Regions from separate parts of the Homo sapiens genome. Here region 1 is linked to region 2. The links are contacts of gene promoters, found by promoter capture Hi-C in blood cells and fetal thymus (Javierre and others, 2016). All regions are on one chromosome and are shown on one strand. Each heading gives the region's core, a stretch centred on a gene start or on the middle of the fragment in contact. The rest is flanking DNA. Distances are from core to core; before and after follow the strand shown. Region 1 has its middle 13 kb from the start of DNAJB9. Region 2 holds the start of IMMP2L (inner mitochondrial membrane peptidase subunit 2).

Region 1 (3,488 bases), core at 867-3,366, 3.0 Mb after region 2:
AATAAGGAAATTTTTGAAACTGGGAGTTTCCCATACTTCACTATAAAATTCCTATTTTCATTTAACATAAATAGAGCACACTTTGGAAAAATGCTGGTTTACAGCTATTCTTATGCAAAAATACAAAATATAGAATTTATCTATAATAAAGTTATTAGAAATATTTAATTTTGATAGTACTATTCCATCATTTAAGGAAATGAATTTGAAATATATTTTACTCTAGCATGTTCTATTGCCCTTACCTATTCTATTCTTGTATAGAAAACACATACATTCCATTGGTGTAGGCCTATTTACTTTCACACAATTAGTATGATGTGTATATTGAGTGTTGCAAAATTGGAGATCATCTGTCTCCTGAAAAATTTTCTGTGACCTACAAAGTACGTCTCTGAGGTAGATACTGCTAACATGTACCATTTTCCAACTCTACTCTACCTCCCAGTCACATAGAAGATTATACTTCCAGATCCCTTCTCTTAGATGGCATCATAAGACCATACCTGGCCAGTGGGGTGAAGTATATGTGTCACTTCCGGGCCAAAGCATTTGACAATGGGAGACTCTTATTTCTTTCTCTGATAGCCAAAAAAGCCTTGCATTAAGCTGGTAGAGCCACAATTTATGAGTCAGCACTGATGTCTCATCAGGTGGGAGACAGCTGCCATGGAAAGAAACCTGGACCCACAGCAGATTTTGTATGAATGAGAAAAAAAAATGTTTATAGTGCTAAGTCACTAAGATTTTGGGGTGGTTATCACAACATCAATTAACTGATGCTGACTAATAGACTCTTTTACCTACACAGAGAAGGGAACAGAGATGAATGGATCATAACCCTCCCTGAGAAGCAAAGAAAAATGTTGTTCTCCATATCTCATGTCCCAGATTTACATGGGCCTATATTACTGATCTATGTGTCAGAGAATAAGAACCAGTATTACCTAAAAGATAAAAATCAATAGAAGAACCAAATGATATTCATTAACAAACACCATTCCTTCCATTTCTAATTATGAAATATGTAATTTAAGACCTATCCTAGAATAACCATTTAGAAAATGCTAAGGTAAAATTTACTTAAAACAAGAAAATATTGTAATACTTTTAAATTATTACCTACATATTAATACACTTAGTTGTAACTAAAAGTAAATTGTGAAATGTCAGTGGAGAATTGTAATGACTTTTCCCTAATATATGGAATGAATCATGTAATGTTTCTTCAGGTAATTATTATATGAAATTATATTTAAATAATATGAAATTAATCCTAAAGTTGAATAGTTGAAAGTGTCTGCAATACTGATTGAAACTGCAGATTTAGTGAGTGATAATTGCATAATGTGTCACAACTCAAAAAGACTCGACCAGAGGCATCCTTGGGACCTCAACAGCATCAGTTGTTTGGGAGAGAGTGAAAACAAGGAGTTTCCAGGGCCAAGGCTAAGGGAAATAATCCAGGTGTAGATTTGACTCCCTAAAGGCCAGTAGTTTCAAATTCAAAGCTAGTATTCAAATTGATGAGGGAAATTTAGGTGACCATGGCAGGATGAGGCAGAGTGGAGAAAGGTGGGCAGCAAAAGATTTGATTGAGTAAAGGAGCCATGATCACAACCAATTCCAGGAAAAAAAAAAAAAAAAAATAGTATTGACCTTGATTAAAGACACTCGGATCTCTAATGTAATGAACACCATTTATCAATGCCTACATAAAGTAATCTTTACCCAAAGATAAAGATAATTTTATTTACAAACCACCCAAAGACATCTTTATACATAGATGTTGAATTGGTAGCTATGCTCACTTACTACCTGAGTGAAGAGTAGACTATTAAGGCATACAATTGCAATTCAATTTTATACTTCAAAAAAATCATAAATTATTACATCATGAAACTTTGGAATCTGTCCCAAATAGTTGGAACCAAAAATGTCATCTACCAAGGCCAAGATTCCACAGTACTTAAGGTGAGGTTTGTTTCTAACTGAAAAAAAAAAACCCAGCCATCATTCATGGGTACAAAAAGAGCCCAATCCTTTTTAAAAACATCTAAATAATCTAATAGTGAAGAAGAAATCATAAAGAAAATAAAGATTTAAAAACCACTGAGGTCTGTTTTTAAGTTTTAATATTCAACTGGTTGTAGGATACACATCCTTCTCTCATTCCCCTATAATATAATGTCTTTTTTTCTTGGTATCCACCTGCTACCATTTGAATGTGTCTCCCAAAGTTCGTATGTTGGAAACTTAATCCCCAATGTTACAATGTTGAGAGGTGTGACCTTTAAGAGGTGACTAGGTCATGAGAGGTCTGTCCTCATGAATGAATTAATGCCATTATCATGGGAGTAGTTCCCTCACAAAAAGCTGAGTTCTCTCTCTCTCTCTCTCTTTCTCCCATATGATACCTTCTGCCATGTTATGACACTGCAAGAAAGCCCTCACCAGATGCCAGCACCTTGATCTTGGACTTCCCAGCATCAGGGCTGTGAGAGACAAATTTATCTTTATTATAGGCTACCCAGTCTGTGATATGCTGTTGTAGTAGCACTAAACAGACTAAAACACCACGCTTTTCCATGTAATGATGAGTTTCAGGGGAGACTAGACCAGACCACCATTCTGGGTCTTAACTGTTGACCTACATCAATTGTGGTCATCATATTCCCCTTACTAGTGATTAGTTTGGGCATGGACTTGTAGCAACAGGTAGCATTTCTGGCCAATAAAGATGGGAGGGAAAGTGTTGTGAGGACATTCTAGAAAAGGTTTCATTTCTCATAACAACCATTTTATTACCAGCCTGAGGATGCGACCAACACACAGAGAGGTCAGAGCCAACACAGCTACTAAGAAGCAAAACCAGATTCCTGGAATACCATTCCTGGAGCTGCCTGACCTCTGTACCTCTTGTTAGAGAAGAAAGTAAGTCTTTTATTGCTCAGCTTATTTTATGTATTAAATTTAGTTTAGGGTTTTCTGTTACCTGCTGCTGCAGGCATCCTCACTGATACACCAGGGTTTGTGGTTGTTGTTTTCCTTAAAAATACACTAATGTGGGAATCAGGCATTCACAAACAAAAATTCAAACATTACAAATTGAAGTAAAATGCAAAGTAAATCTTCCCGACTCCCAGTCACATTCCTTAAAAGCTATCATGTTACCTGTGTCTGTTGTCAGATCTTCCGATTGTCATTAAAATTTAAAATAATGTGCTTAAATCACCAGTCTTTGATTTATAACTTTAGACAGAGTCAATTGATTACCTACTATGAAAGATAATAGAATTAATACACTAATCTTTTCTTACACTTCACCTTCCATTTTCCTTTCTCCTTCCATTTCCTGATATGTTAGGTGCATTTCACATGATTATCCTATAAATATAATTAAATCCTCCCTTCTTTGTTTACACACTGATTGGAAAACATTTATAATATAATAATGCAAACAACTTCATTGTAAATTGAGCAACTAG
Region 2 (3,582 bases), core at 720-3,219:
GTCTTTGTTGTTTATTCACCTACATTCCATCCCAGACTGTCAGTTCCTAGTGACCAGGAGCTCCATTCAATTTGGGGTCATGGTACCAAATAGTTCTTGACTGCTATTTGATGAGGGTGGTCCTGTCACCTAAGTGCTCTTGAAATTAAGTCCTTAAGCACTGGCCGAAAAGAGCTTACTTTGCAGTAATTATTTCAGTGACAAGTAAGAAAAACTGGGACATATCCCCTTCACAGGAGAGCAATTTTGCTCTCTTTAGGAAACTCTTGGAATTTTAGTTATCAGGCTATTTAAGACCCTGAGTAGATTCTTAAACCTTTAGAATAAATTTTGAACCAAGAGTGCCAGAATGTCTGTTATTTACATTAGTATTAAGTGATCTGAAAGTGCACAGAGTAGTTTGGCAGTATCTAGAGGGAGAATAGAGACAGAAATAATGAAGATACAACTGGAGGAGTAAGAAAAGGAGAAAAAAAGTATTTTATGTCTGTTCAGTATTTCTAGGTGCCACTGCTGCTAAATGCCTGGGCTTCAGCCTAGGTTGGGTTGCTCCTAGCAAAGAAAACCAGTCCCTGAGACAACGAGTATTGCCAGGGAAGACAGGCTTTAATGCAGGTGATGCTGGCAGGGAGACCAGTCTCAAACATGTCTTAGGGAGACTAAAGTTAGGGCTTTCTATAGCAGGGAATTATGGAGGGGTAAGGAAGAGGAGTTTGTGAACAGGCAGCAGATGCACCTCATTGTCCAGATGTAGTGTTCTGGAAAGTTGCATTTCCTTGACACTATCTGGGAGGTCTGACAGTTTATCTGCTGAGAAAGGAACTCAGGTAAAATGCACGCAAGTTTCTCAAGTTTCACTTCGAAGGGAAAATTTGGCCGGTTTCGGTCTTCCCTTTCTATTTATCAATTCCTCAATCATGCGGAATCTGGTAGTTGATCTTTCTGGCTGCTTCACGTGAAGGAAGGGCATCTTGGGATGATATGGAATGAAAATATCGCACCTGTAATTGCAAGTACTTACGAGTACCTGGTTGGCATCCAGCTTGTTGGAGCACCATGATTTGGGTACTTTCATCAACATTTTAAACCACATTGAATTAGGATAATTAATAACATGGATAAGAAGGTTTCTTTGTAGGTTGTAATAACCCAGTTAAGAGTTTGTACCATTCGGCCGGGCGCAGTGGCTCACGCCTGTAATCCTAGCACTTTGGGAGGCCTAGGTGAGCGGATCACGAGGTCAGGAGATGGAGACCATCTTTGCTAACACGGTGAAATCCCATCTCTACTAAAAATACAAGAAGATTAGCCGGGCATGGTGGCGGGGGCCTGTAGTCCCGGCTACTAGGGAGGCTGAGGCAGGAGAATGGCGTGAACCCGGGAGGCGGAGATTGCAGTGTCGCTCTGGCGACAGAGCGAGACTCCGTCTCAGGAAAAAAAAAAAAAGAGTTTGTACCATTTGAGGGCAAAAGCTTCAGTATGAAATTCCCGTTTCTCTCAAGTAAACCGCCTGTCCTGTGTTACTCACTTTGTTTTACCTGGAGGCAGCAAAACTGAATAGTTTTCCTGAGTGCTCATGAGTAGGAAAAAATGAAATGAAGAGTTGCCCAGAGATCGCTAGTGAGGTGCTTTGCCACTACTGCCCTGTACTTAAGTAACTGTGAGGGTTCTCTGTTTCCTGGCTTCTAAAACAAGAGGAAGAGCTGAAGACACAGTTTCATAGACTTTTCGGCTCTTTATTGTAGTCTCCCCCATTAGTACGTTGCTGAGCTTAGGGCAAGTGCTCAATAATAGCTTGCTGAATTAGTGTTGTGTTTGATCCTTTCAGATCCACGCCGCATTTTGAGCCCGACCTGGGCGGGCGGTCCAGAGACCAGTTTTCCGCCGGGGGCGGAGCTTCGGGCGGCCAGCGCGCGACGGGGCAGCGGGGCGGAGCTTGCCGCCGGCGGAGGGCGGGGTCTGCGCGGGGACTTCCCCCGGGCTGAGCTGCGCAGCGGGTGCGGAGGGCGGGCGCCCGGCGTCCGGCGGCGGGTGGGGGGCTGTGAGGCTGGCAGGGGTCGGCGGGCGCGTAGCCGCCGACCCTTGGTGGTCTCTTGGGCTGGGGACCCTTCCCTGGGAGTCGGCCCCGGCCCCGGCGGGGCGGGCGTTGCCGGGAGGCGGAGGGGTGCGCGGCCGCGAGTCCTGCGTGATCGCGAGCATGTGTGCGTGCGCGTGTTTATCTGAGGCGCGTGCGGCGGCCACCCCAGCCTAGTCCTCTTCTTGGTGCCACTGGCTAACTAGGTTGAGAAACCGGCGCCACAGGCGGCACACCTGGCCCGGAGCTGGCCCGCTCCTCCCCGCCGAGCCGGCGCCCCAACAACGCGCCCTCTCCCAGTCCTCACAAAGGGGCCTAGTCCGGCCCCCGGCTCTGGCCGTGAGGGAGCGCTGTGGGGGCGCGCTGCCTTCTGCCTGGAAGTGTTGGGCAGGTGGTGGGAGAGCGTCAGGCTTGAACAACATGATTTTAAAGCACGTGTCTGTCTGTCGTTTTTTACTTTTAGGGTTTTGGCCAAATTGGGCGAGGGCACAAAATAACCACTTACCCCTTCTCACCGAGGAAGAGCGGGAGAAAGGGTAAGTAAGGAATGGTCAGGGGTGGAAGGACCTAGGACTTTATCCTGAGAGCGAGCGAGAGAGAGAAGGGCTAGATGTCCAGAACTGCTCGTGGGGAACTTGGGCCCAGATTCTACCTTTTCATCGGGAACTGGAGGACCCACCTTCAAAGTCACAGGCTCCAGGCCCCGGACTGTTTTCAGCCTCACACAGTCTATAGAGTTTAACAGCTTGGGCATGTGGATCCCTTTTAGCCCCTTGACCCGACAGAAAACTGCACTTCCCCTTTACCTGTTTTTACCTTGGAACATTGGTCCTCTCTAGTTGTCTGTCTCCGGCCCCTATCTTATTAGCCAGCTTTGACTAATCCCTGAGACCATAGCACTAAAGAATCCAGGTCCTGTTTGATAATGAACAGTAACCCCCCTAGGGATGTTTACATTTTAAAAGGGTACTCCTGAAAAAATCCTTTAGGACCCCAAAGCATAAAGTTAGTAACAAGATTACAAGTGTTGAAGTTCTTTGGGATCTCTCAAGCTTACAGAAGAAGATGTTTTGAGGGGAGAGAGATGACCAGGCTGGGCCTTTTTCTCTGGGCTTTCACTCTTGGTACCTCCTGGCAAGCATTCCATTCACTTTTGAAAAGTTGCCAAAAAGGACACTGAAGTTCTCTGAGGCTTACTGTGATTTTCAGTGTGGTCTATTTCATTGGTTCTTCTGTGGGACTTTTCTATCACTTCTTTAATACACTGCTTCCCTCTCCCCTGTATGGTGAAATGAAACACAGCTCCTCTCACAAGGTTGGGAGCTCATTATGCATCCTATATGTCACATATAAATAACCGTTTTAAATTAGTTGAAATTCAGATTAGCTACAAGCAGGAATGTAGTAAAACTGCATTCTTGGATTCTTACACAGGAAAAGTAGAATTGCCCTCTGTGATAGGCTGCCTATTCTGATACTGGCTGCCTGTGTCCTGAACGTGCCTATTT

Evidence for each region. The method cuts DNA at HindIII sites, captures the fragments that hold promoters and counts their contacts. A CHiCAGO score of 5 or more calls a contact.
Region 1: a fragment that was not itself captured here is called in contact with the fragment with the promoter of IMMP2L in region 2 in 1 of 17 cell types (total CD4 T cells); the score reaches 5.5 in total CD4 T cells.

Annotation. Positions count from the first base shown.
Region 1 is chr7:108,581,530-108,585,017 of GRCh38, reverse strand. No RefSeq gene overlaps it. Among named protein-coding and RNA genes, the nearest start is that of DNAJB9, 13 kb to the right of the region's middle. RefSeq lists a silencer at 2,767-2,967. The HindIII fragment of the contact is 5,107 bases long and covers 1-3,488 here.
Region 2 is chr7:111,560,879-111,564,460 of GRCh38, reverse strand. IMMP2L (inner mitochondrial membrane peptidase subunit 2) reads left to right here and starts at 1,969. Exons shown (of 6, transcript NM_032549.4): 1 at 1,969-2,610. RefSeq lists a silencer at 1,808-2,437. The HindIII fragment of the contact is 1,654 bases long and covers 1,475-3,128 here.